3 separate regions of the Homo sapiens genome follow, and regions 1 and 2 are each linked to region 3. The links are contacts of gene promoters, found by promoter capture Hi-C in blood cells and fetal thymus (Javierre and others, 2016). All regions are on one chromosome and are shown on one strand. The core of a region is centred on a gene start or on the middle of the fragment in contact, and the rest is flanking DNA. Distances in the headings are between cores, read along the strand shown. Region 1 has its middle 9.6 kb from the start of RNH1. Region 2 holds the start of PTDSS2 (phosphatidylserine synthase 2). Region 3 holds the start of NLRP6 (NLR family pyrin domain containing 6).

Region 1 (3,681 bases), core at 67-2,566, 240 kb after region 3:
AATTCTTTTTTCTTTTCATTGATTTTCCTCTTCTTACTTTCCTCCTCCTGAAGTTGGGGTCATGTCCCAAGAAGACCCACAAGGCCTGGCCTGTGGGTGCACATGTGGGGAGGGTCAGGTCTGTCGGCTGAGGAGGGCATTGGTAGGGGACTTTGAGCAGTGCTGCTCCGGAGACACGAATGATGGGATGGGAGGCTCTCCCATATCTGCCGAGAGCACAGCACCCCATGACTCCTGGGAGCTTGTCATAGATGCTGCAGATGAGTCCTTCCTCAGACGGGATATTTGCTAATGCCTCTGCCAGCCTGGGCTTGTCTTCTCAGGGCCTTTCAAAATGCACACACCCTTCATTCTCATGATGTCCAGTGGATCAGGTTTTCCTTTATGTGTCATGCTTTTAGTGTTTAAGAATCATTTCTCTAACCCAAGTCACACTGACATCCTCCTTTTCATTCTTAACGCACATTTTACAGTTGTAGGCCTTACATTTTGGCTTATAATAAGTTCTGAGGCCAGGCACAGTGCTCACACCTGTAATCCTGGCACTTTGAGAGGCCAAGGCGGGTGGATCACCAGAGGTCAGGAGTTTGACACAAGCCTGGCCAACATGGTGAAACCCCGTCTCTACTAAAAATACAAAAAGTAGCCAGGTGTGGTGGCGGGCACCTGTAATCCCAGCTACTCCAGAGGCTGAGGCAGGAGAATCACTTGAACCTGGGAGACAGAGGTTGCAGTGAGTCAAGATTGTGCCACTGCCCTCCAACCTGGGCGAGAGAGTGAGACTCCATCTCAAAAAAATTAATAGTAAATTTTGAATGGATTTATATATGTACTGTCATGTATAGATTGAAGCTTCCATTCATATGTGTAGCCCCGTCATTCTAGTACCATTTGTTGCTAAGATTCTCCTTTCTCTGCTGAATTTGCTTACACTTATTTCAAAATCAGTTGAGCATGTATGTGAGGGTCTACTCTCGATCCTCTATTCTGTTCCACTGATCTATTTGTCTATCCTGTTACCAATGCCACACTGTCTGGATTTCTGAACCTTTATAACACATCTTGGGCCAGGTGCAAAGGTTCACGCCTGTAATCCTAGCACTTTGGGAGGCCGAGGTGGGTGGATCACTTGAGGCCAGGAGTTCAAGACCAGCCTGGCCAACATGGCGAAACCCGTCTCTACCAAAAATACAAAAACTAGCCAGGCATGGTGGTACACGCCTGTAATCCCAGCTACTCGGGAGGCTGAGGTACAAGAATCACTTGAGCCCCAGAGGCGGAGGCTGCAGTGAGCTGAGATCGTACCACTGCACTCCAGCCTGAGTGACAGAGCGAGCCTCCATCTCAAAAAAAAAAAAACCCAAATCTTGAAGCCAGGCATAGAATGCCCTCTCACTTGACCATTGTTTTCCAGAGCTGTTTTGATGATTGTAGGCCCACAGCATTGCCACACACTGAAACACAGGCCCATGAGCACACATATATGTATAATACAAATATAAGTGCACACCATGACGCAGTGAAATTTATCACAGGAATGCAAGGCTGGTTCAACATGAAATATGAGCCAATGGAATTCACCATATAAGCAGATTAAAAGACAAAAAGACGGCCGGACGTGGTGGCTCACATCTGTGATCCCAGCACTTTGGGAGGCTGAAGCAGGAGGATTCTGAGCAACATAGTGAGACCTGGTCTCTAAATAAATAAAATAAGACAAAAATACATCATCATTTCAGTAGACTTAGAAAAGGCATTTGACAGAATCCAGCAGGCTTATAAAGCTTTTTAATTATTTTTTTCTCCCTCTCCCTCTCCCTCTCCCTTCGGTCTCCCTCTGTTGCCGAGGCTGGACTGTACTGCTGTGGTCTCGGCTTGCTGCAGCCTCCCTGCCCCGGGCTCCCATGGTTCTCCTGCCTCGGCCTGCCAAGTGCCTGGGATTGCAGGCATGCACCGCCACGCCTGACTGGTTTTTGTATTTTTGGAGGAGACGGGGTTTTGCCCTGTTGACCGGGCTGGTCTCCGGCTCCTGACCTCCAATGGTCTGCCCGCCTCGGCCTCCCGGGGTGCTGGGATTGCAGACGGAGTCTTGCTCACTCAATGCTCAGTGTTGCCAAGGCTGGAGCGCAGTGGCGTGATCTCAGCTCGCCACAACCTCTACCTTCCAGCTGCCTGCCTTGGCCTCCCAAAGTGCTAAGATTACAGCCTCTGCCCGGCCGCCACCCCGTCTGGGAGGTGAGGAGCATCTCTGCCCGGCCGCCCATCGTCTGGGAGGTGAGGAGCGCCTCTGCCCGGCCGCCCGGTCTGGGAAGTGGGCGCCTCTGCCCAGCTGCCCCGTCTGGGAGGTGGGGGGCGCCTCTGCCTGGCTGCCCCGTCTGGGAGTTGAGGGGTGCCTCTGCCCGACCGCCCCACCTGGGAAGTGAGGGGCACCTCTGCCCAGCCACCGCCTTATCTGGAAGGTGGGGAGCGCCTCTGCCCGACTGCCCCGTCTGGGAAGTGGGCGCCTCTGCCCGGCCGTCCCATCTGGGGGGTGAGGAGCACCTCTGCCCGGCCACCCCGTCTGGGAGGTGAGGAGTGCCTCTGCCAGGCCGCCCCGTCTGGGAAGTGTACCCAACAGCTCCAAAGAGACAGCGACCATCGAGAACGGGCCATGATGACAGTGGCAGTTTTGTCAAAAAGAAAAGGGGGAAATGTGGGGAAAAGAAAGAGAGGTCAGATTGTTACTGTGTCTGTGTAGAAAGAAGTAGACATAGGAGACTCCGTTTTGTTCTGTACTAAGAAAAATTCTTCTGTCTTGGGATGCTGTTAATCTATAACCTTACCCCCAACCCCGTGCTCTCTGAAACGTGCTGTGTCAACTCAGGGTTAAATGGATTAAGGGCGGTGCCAGATGTGCTTTGTTAAACAGATGCTTGGAGGCAGCATGCTCGTTAAGAGTCATCACCATTCCCTAATCTCAACTACCCAGGGACACAAACACTGCGGAAGGCCGCAGGGACCTCTGCCTAGGAAAACCAGAGACCTTTGTTCACGTGTTTATCTGCTGACCTTCTCTCCACTATTATCCTATGACCCTGCCACATCCCCCTCTCTGAGAAACACCCAAGAATGATCAATAAATAAAAAATAATAATAATAAAATTTTTTTTTTTTTGAGATGGAGTCTCGCTCTGTCGCCTAGGCTGGAGTGCAGTGGCCCATCTCAGCTCACTGCAAGCTCCGCCTCCCGGGTTCACGCCATTCTCCTGCCTCAGCCTTAGGAGTAGCTGGGACTACAGGTGCCCGCCACCACGCCCAGCTAATTTTTTGTATTTCTGGTAGAGACGGGGTTTCATGGTGTTAGCCAGGATGGTCTCGATCTCCTGACCTCGTGATCCACCCGCCTCGGCCTCGCAAAGTGCTTGGGATTACAGGCGTGAGCCACCGCGCCAGGTCAGCTTTTTAAATTTTTTTTGTATTGTTGGTAGAGATGGGGTTTCATTTGGCCAGGCTGGTCTCCAACTCCTGACTTCGTGATCCGGCCGCCTCCGCCTCCCAAAGTGCTGGGATTACAGACGTGAGTCACCCTGCCCGGCCGCCTGTTCACTTTATTACTTGGAGACCGTATTCCATTCCCATAACCCAGGGGAGGAGGCACGCACGAGCCGACACCAGCAGGTGGGGCAGGAAACGCAGCCAGCG
Region 2 (3,867 bases), core at 168-2,667, 170 kb after region 3:
ACAAGGCCCAGCATGCCCCGCGCGGACTACAAGCCCCACAATGCACCGCACACCCTTTACTGGCCGGCCCCGCGCTGCTCTCCTAAGACCCCGCGGGCCAGCGCCGCGACCCCTTCCCAGCGCTCCTCGCGCTGTGTGCGGCGCGTCCTCTCGCCGGTGACCCGGTGTGCGTGGGGTCGAGGCGCCGGGCGGAGTGGCTCCGGGCCGAAACGCCATGCGGAGGGGCGAGCGCAGGGACGCCGGAGGTCCGCGGCCCGAGTCCCCGGTGCCCGCGGGCAGGGCCTCGCTGGAGGAGCCGCCTGACGGGCCGTCTGCCGGCCAAGCCACCGGGCCGGGCGAGGGCCGCCGCAGCACCGAGTCCGAGGTCTACGACGACGGCACCAACACCTTCTTCTGGTGAGGGCAGTGGGCGGCCGCGGGGCGGCGAGGGTGCCCTCGACCTGGGGGTTCCGGCACCGCTGGCCTGGGGGTCCCCGGCAGCGCCCTCTCGCCGTCTTGGAGTCCAGGACTGTGGCCGGGGGTTTGAGGGTGTGGCAGCACCGCCCCCCGGGTCCCGGGGAGCGGCCGGACCGAGCTCCCGACGCCGGGTCGGGCGGAGGGCGGCGCTGTAGGTGGGGGAGACCCTGGGCAGACCCTCCCTGCGGCCGCTTTGCGTCTCTCTCGCCGCCCTCCCCACCCCTGCCCGCCTTGGCTCTGACCGCGCGGTTCTGCGATCCAGACCCCTTCCCCGCCACCCGCCTCCAGCGTCACCCCAGAAACGCTTTCTCTGTCCTGCTGTCGAAGCTTCACCTGTGTCCCCCGTCATTCTGCCTGTGGTTGCTCCTCAGTGCTTGCGGCTGCACGAAATCATCTTGTGTGTCGCGCCCGACCCCACGTGGCGATCGTGTTGATTAGCAGAGTGTTGTGCGTGCTTCAGGAATGTAGTCGGTGTTCGTCGAATCCAGGCTCTGTTTCTCTCCTCAGTTGCCCCTAGCGGGGCCAGCGCCTCCTCCCTGCACAACTCAGCCCTAGCTACACCTTGGGGTCCCCCTGTCCGCCACTCTGCCTTTAATGGGGGTGGAAAAGGAAGAGGCCCCCGGGAGCAGCTGGAGTGTGGCACTCTGTGTCCAGACAGGCTCCAGGTGCCGCTCCTACTCCCGACAGCTGCGACCCTGGGCTGGCCCTTTGCCGATGCTCCTCTGTGAGAAGGATCAAGCCGTCGACCTGAAAGCAGGCTTCGTGAGAGGAGGGTTTGGCTCTTCTTGACTGCAAGGTGCCCAGTTCCCATCCTGTGGAAGGCCCGGGGGCACAGGGGCAGTAGAGGTGGGGTCAGCCCCAGGAAAACGTGTGGGAGACAGGCGCCTGCGGCCAGCAGTGGAAGGAAGGCTTTATGGACGCTTCCAAGAGAACCATGCTGTGGGATGGTCGGAGAGCAAATCTGAGGGGCGAGGAGGGCCTGATGGAGGAGTAAGGGACTTGTCAGGGGAAGGCGCCACCACAGACAGGGACTTAACCGGTCCTGGCCTGTCACCGCAGCCGAAGCTCTGGAGAGAGACTGTCCAAGTGGTGGGAAAGCAGGTTAGGGTGGAGGAGGCCCCACGCAGGGTCTTCCGTGAGGTGTGGGCAGCTGCTGTTGCAGGGAGGGCATCCGAGCTCTCCTTTGGGGAGATGAGTGTACCGGGTGGCTGCGGGGCCCTCGGGAGGGAGAGGAGATGGGGTGCCTGCCACGTGGACCCTCTGGCTTCCGGGCCCTGTGGACATCAGGCCTCTCCATCAGGTGCCCTGCCACACCCCTTCAGGCTGTCCTCCCGCAGCACAGCTGGGGACCACCGGAGTCTCTGAGGTCCTGGAGCAAGGAGACCAGACTGGCTCTTCTGAGGTCCCGGAGCAAGAAGACCAGACGGGCTCCTCTGACATCCCGGAGCAAGGAGAACAGACGGGCTCCTCTGAGGTCCCGGAGCGAGGAGACCAGACTGGCTCTTCTTGTTTCTCATTTGGCCGTTCAGCACATTGTGGGGACCCCTACTGCCTGTCAGTTACCGTTCTACGGGACATAGCAGAGAACTAAACAAGAAGCTTAGATTCTGGTGCAGGCATGGAACTTCAGAAGGCTCAAAATGTGCTGGCTGGGTGCTGAGTGTGGCAGGAGCCAGGGGGCACATGCAAGCCTGCGCAGCCCACCCAGTACCAGGGAAGCAGGAGCAGCAGCCCAAAGGTAGGAGGGGGCCGGTCTCTTTAGAAGCCCAGACCAGTGGTCCCTGCCCACAAGGGGTGTTTGGGACACAGACGGCTGGGCGCAGCAGAGCTTGCCTGTCAGGAGGCCAAGGGGGTCAGGAGGGCTCTCCAGGAGCGGGTGCAGCGGGGCTGGCTGGTCCAGGTACCTCCTTCCTGGGTCTTCTGGGTGGGTGGCTCTGGCTCTGGCTTTCCCCTCGACCCTGTCCCTGTAGAGACGCATGGGGCAGGTTCTTGCTGTGCCTCCTCCCTTCCCTGTGCAGAGGAAGGAGCTTCACGCTTCTGGGTGGCAGGTAACTCAATGCCTGCCTGGTGAGAATTCATTACCTGCAGAGCCTCACACTGACCTCCTGAGTCCACCTGCACTGACTTGCTGTGCTGGCATTTTTTTAACTCTAATTTTGTGTTTTAGAGAGTTTTACTTTTTATTTTTTATTCATTTTTATTTATTTATTTATTTTTAATAGAGGGTCCCCCTGTGTTGCCCAGGCTGGTCTTCAACTCCTGGCCTCAAGTGATCCTTCCGCCTCAGCCTCCCAGATTGCTGAGATTACAGGCATGCACCACCACATCCAGCCAGGGCGTTCATTTTCAAGGATGGGTGCACTTCCTCGGGCCAGTGACGGCGGCCATGTGTGAATTTTGTTTCTCTGTGACTGCTTGTCAGCCATAGGGATAGGGCGTGCGGTTCGATTCAGGGCTTGACTGGCCCTGGGAGCACGAGGCTGAGCTCTCCTTCTCTGGATTCATTCAGGGTAGCAAGGACAATTATGGGGAACATCCAGAGGAAAACGTTTAGATCCACAGACTCCGAGAAGCCCTGTGCGAAGATGTGGCAGCTCATGCGGTCTGGAAATTGTTTGGGAGAACACTTGGGGACCCCTTACCCTGGCGAGGTGCCTGTGAACGTTGCCGCCTGTCTGTGGGAGACGCTGAAGCAGCTTCGGATGACCACACTTGCTAACCAGTTCCCGAGCTGGGGGCCACTGTGATGTTCTGAGAGTTTTTATTGTATGCTTGTGTCTTGGAATGGGGTGCCTCAAATGAGCCTTCTCAGTGACCTGAGGACTTTATGTGTGAGGTGACCTCTGACCTTCAGATACCCCAGGTTTCTGGAAGATGCCTTTCTCCATCATCCTGGATCGGGGCTTTCCCAGCTTTGCCTACACCTGGGAGGCGCGAGTAGCCAGATGAAGTCTTTCTGGTCTTGCTGGTCAGAGCCAGAAGGGCCAGTGCCCGGTCCAGGAGCCTCTCGCAGGCCTTGGGCTGCCCATCCAGGCGTGGCCTTTCCTTGGCCCTTTGGACGACGACGCCGCGTTTTCCTCTTGGTCTCGGCCTCCCTGCCCACCATGAGAGTGGACATGAGAGTGACCATCTCCAAGGAGGCAGCTGGGTCTTTTCCACTCCCCATGGCAGGGAGCCAGCTGTCTTCACGCCCTCACCCTAGTGAAGTGGCTGAATTGCCAGGATTGATCACAGCTCTGTTCTGTGTCTGATCACAGGACATACACCGTCCTGCAGAGTCTGCAGGCGGGTGGGAGGAGCCATTGAACAGACCTGGCGTCCTGGGAGGGACACGGAATTCTTCCCTTGAGAGTCTCATGCTATCTTGAGCGGCACTCTGTCACTTCCAAGATGTGTAGACGTCGTGCTGCG
Region 3 (3,769 bases), core at 1,109-3,608:
AAAAGACAGAAGTCTTATTACCCTGCCAAAGATGGTCTTGAACTCTAGCAATCCTCCCACTTAAGCCTGTCCTGTAGCTAGGACTATGCCCAGTTTGGTTAAACGTATTTTTAATTCCTCTGACTTGTTTTTTGACCCATGTGTTATTTGCAAGTGTATTGTTTATTCCAAATATTGGGGGATTTTCTGATTGGGAAGCTCCTTCCATTCTTCCCAGTTTGCTTAGTGTTTTTAACCATGAAGAGGTGTTGGAAAATGTAGACTATTCTTTCTGTCTCTATTGAGATGATCAAGCAGTTTTTGTCCTCTTAAGTATTACTATGATATGTTACATTAATTGATTTTTGGATGTTAAACCAACCTTGCACTCCTTAGAGAAAACACACTTAGTCATGGTTTGTAATTGTTTTTATATGCTAATAGATTCTGTTTCTGAAGTAGTTTGTTAAGGATTTTTCATGCCTGTATTCATGAAGGATATTGGTTTACAGTTTTCTTCTGATGAGTTTGCCTGGTTTTGGTATCAGTGTCACAGGCCTCAGAGAATGAGTTGGGAAGCATTCCCTTGAGAGCTTTTCTTTGTGGGAAAGTTTTTTTTCCCTGTAATTAGTAATTCAATCTCTTTACTTGTTATAATTTGTCTTAGTCTATTCTCACATTGCTGTAAAGACATACCTGAGACAGGGTAATTTATAAAGAAAAGAGGTTTAACTAGCTCCTGGTTCTGTGGGCTGTACAGACTTTTGCTTCTGGGGAGGCCTCAGGAAACTTACAATCATGGCAGAAAGCAAAGGGGAAGCAGGCAAATATTCATGTGGCCAAAAGGACAGAGAGAGCAAAGTGGGACATGCTACACACTTTCAAACAACCAGATCTCATGAGAACTTACTCACTATTACAAGAACAGCAAGGACGAAATCCACCTTCATGATCCAATCACCTGCCACCAGGTCTCTCCCCCAACATTGGGAATTACAATTCAACATGAGATTTGGGTGGGGACACACAGCCAAACTGTTATCAGAAAGAGGTCTTGATCCAGACATCATGGTTCTTGGATCTCATGCAAGAAAGAATTTGAGTCAAATCCATAAAGAGTAAAGTGCCAGGCATGGTCGCTCACACCAGTAATCCCAGCACTTTGGGAGGTCCAAGGCAGGCAGATCACAAGGTCAAGAGTTCAAGGCCAGCCTGACCAACATGGTGAAACCCCGTCTCTACTAAAAATACAAAAATTAGCCAGGCATGGTGGTGCATGCCTGTAATTCCAGCTACTCAGGAGGCTGAGGCAGGAGAATTGCTTGAACCCAGGAGGCGGAGTTTGAAGTGAGCCGAGATCGTGCCACTGCACTCCGCCTGGCGACAGAACGAGACTCCATGAAAAAAAAAAAAAAAAAAAAAAGAGTAAAGTGAGAGCAAGTTTATTGAGAAAGTAAAGGAATAAAAGAATGGCTATTCTATAGGCAGAGCAGCCCCAAAGGCTGCTGGTTGCCCATTTTTATGGTTATTTCTTGATTATATGCTAAACGAGGAGTGGATTATTCATGAGTTTTCCAGGAAAGTGGTGGGCAATTCTCAGAACTGAGGGTTCCTCCCCTTTTAGACCATATAGGGTAACTTCCTGACTTTGCCATGGCATTTATAAACTGTCATCGTGTTGGTGGGAGTGTCTTTTAGTGTGCTAATGTACTGTAACTAGAGTAATGAGCTGTGAGGATGACCAGAGGTCACTCTCATTGCCATCTTGGTTCTGGTGGTTTTGGGCCAGCTTCTTTACACCATTATCAGCAAGGCCTTTATGACCTGTATCTTGTGTCAACCTCCTGTCTCATCCTGTGACTTAGAATGTCTACCCTCCTGGGAATGCAGCCCAGTAGGTCTCAGCCTTATTTTACCCAGCACCTCTCATTTCCACATATTAACCCCCCCGTTCCACACACTCTCACATTTGGTCCCAGGGGTCTCGAACACCCCTGACGTCCAGCCTCTGCCCGCCAGCTGTTCAGGTCGGGTGGGGAGGCTGCAGTGCAGACCCCTGCCCGGCGTCTCCCTGGAGACTGCCTTCCCTCCCATATATGGTGCGTGCTGCTGGCTGTCCCCCCTGTTCCCTCTACCTGGAAGTCTTTCCTCACCCCTGCCTTCAGAGTCTAACCTCTCCCCAGGCCTCAGCTGAAGGCCTGGCTCTGAGCCAGCCACCTCCTTCACACAACCCACCTTGCTCTGAAGCTGCCTGCTCACAGCCATGCCCCGATGCCACACCCAGGGGTTCTTGGGGAACATTAATGGGATAAAGGAGTAAGAAAATCAAAGGTCACCAAACGGAGCCCTTAAAGGGCAATGCTCTGCGTGTGCCACGGTGCCCAACAGCATCTCGTGCCAGCTGAGCTGCGGTGTGTGGACCCGGGGAATGGACCGGGCTGGACAACCTCTAAGACTTGGCTCCAGCTCAGCCTGTGAAGGAATCACCTCTCTGATCCCCACCTCTGCCCCGGAGTGCTAGACCCAGGGAGGAAGAGACCCCATGGACCAGCCAGAGGCCCCCTGCTCCAGGTGAGTGCTGGCCCCAGGGTGGTCACTGGGAACCGGCTGGTCTCAGCCCTCTGGGGCCTCCACCTCACCCGCTGACTTCCTCAGGCTCTCCACCCTTGTCCACATCCTTCCCCCACCCTCACTCCCAGGCTCAGGAGCCAAGCACTGCCTCCCCACAGAGGGCATTTGTGGAGTCTGTTCCCCACCAGGGGCTCAGATTCAGGCCCTGGTGCAAGGCCCCAAGCTGGGCCCCACCAAAGTGTGGCAGGGGTGGGGGCCCAGGAATACAGCCTGGGCCTGGCAGTGTCTGCTGCCAAAGAGGCCAGTTCTGCTCCGGGATCGGGAAGAGAGGGAAAAGAAGGAAAGCGAGGAAAGAGAGCTCAGGGTTCCTTGGAAATACCTCCCTCGGGGCATGTGACCTGTCCTGGGGTGTGGAAGGACAGAAGCAGAAAGGGAGGTGCAGGGGAGGAAGGTGCCCCCCAGAGCTCAGATCAGCGGCGGCCAGTGCCCACTTCACCCTCAGAGGGCGAAGAACACCAAGACGCCCCGACCCGGGTCCGGGGACGGGGGAGGGAAAAGTCTGGGGTCACTCCCCGTTGCCCCCTCCCGCCACCCCATGGATCCAGACGATGCTTGGCCCGGGACTCCCTGAGGCCCTGCCCGCGGTGGGTTCTCCGGCGCCAGAGTCGGGGGCGGGCGGGGGTCACCCGAGGGCCGCTCCCCGATGACCCGCGCCCGCCCGCCTCCAGCACGGGGCCGCGCCTCGCGGTGGCCCGCGAGCTGCTCCTGGCTGCGCTGGAGGAACTGAGCCAAGAGCAGCTGAAGCGCTTCCGCCACAAGCTGCGCGACGTGGGCCCGGACGGACGCAGCATCCCGTGGGGGCGGCTGGAGCGCGCGGACGCCGTGGACCTCGCGGAGCAGCTGGCCCAGTTCTACGGCCCGGAGCCTGCCCTGGAGGTGGCCCGCAAGACCCTCAAGAGGGCGGACGCGCGCGACGTGGCGGCGCAGCTCCAGGAGCGGCGGCTGCAGCGTGAGTTCTGCGCGGGAGGTCCCTCCTGTCTGGGCAGAGGCTGGGCTGCCCTCCTTCCCGCTTCCCGGAGAAGCCCCGGCGCGGTCCCCGGCCCCCGCGCGTTTTATCCACAAATTCGCGGGCCCCAGGGGTAGGACCCTGCGTGCTCCTCAGGGTGACTCGGACCCCCGTGGCGCCTTCCCCTGTTCCCGCCCTCGGCGGAACCTCACC

The links. The method cuts DNA at HindIII sites, captures the fragments that hold promoters and counts their contacts. A CHiCAGO score of 5 or more calls a contact.
Region 1: a fragment that was not itself captured here is called in contact with the fragment with the promoter of NLRP6 in region 3 in 3 of 17 cell types (total CD8 T cells, erythroblasts and endothelial precursors); the score reaches 5.6 in total CD8 T cells.
Region 2: a contact is called between a fragment that was not itself captured here and the fragment with the promoter of NLRP6 in region 3, in 8 of 17 cell types (total CD8 T cells, total CD4 T cells, naive CD4 T cells and 5 more). The highest score is 11.8, in total CD8 T cells.

The regions. Positions count from the first base shown.
Region 1 is chr11:515,047-518,727 of GRCh38, forward strand. It overlaps a transcript of LRRC56 not described here. Among named protein-coding and RNA genes, the nearest start is that of RNH1, 9.6 kb to the left of the region's middle. The HindIII fragment of the contact is 932 bases long and covers 851-1,782 here.
Region 2 is chr11:450,242-454,108 of GRCh38, forward strand. PTDSS2 (phosphatidylserine synthase 2) reads left to right here and starts at 38. Exons shown (of 12, transcript NM_030783.3): 1 at 38-396. The coding sequence starts at 215. RefSeq lists enhancers at 1-224, 1-102 and silencers at 133-372, 563-622, 633-722. The HindIII fragment of the contact is 1,272 bases long and covers 782-2,053 here.
Region 3 is chr11:276,049-279,817 of GRCh38, forward strand. It overlaps NLRP6 (NLR family pyrin domain containing 6), which reads left to right and starts at 2,359. Exons shown (of 8, transcript NM_001276700.2): 1 at 2,359-2,550; 2 at 3,279-3,559. The coding sequence starts at 2,522. RefSeq lists an enhancer at 3,659-3,769. The HindIII fragment of the contact is 27,921 bases long and covers 1-3,769 here.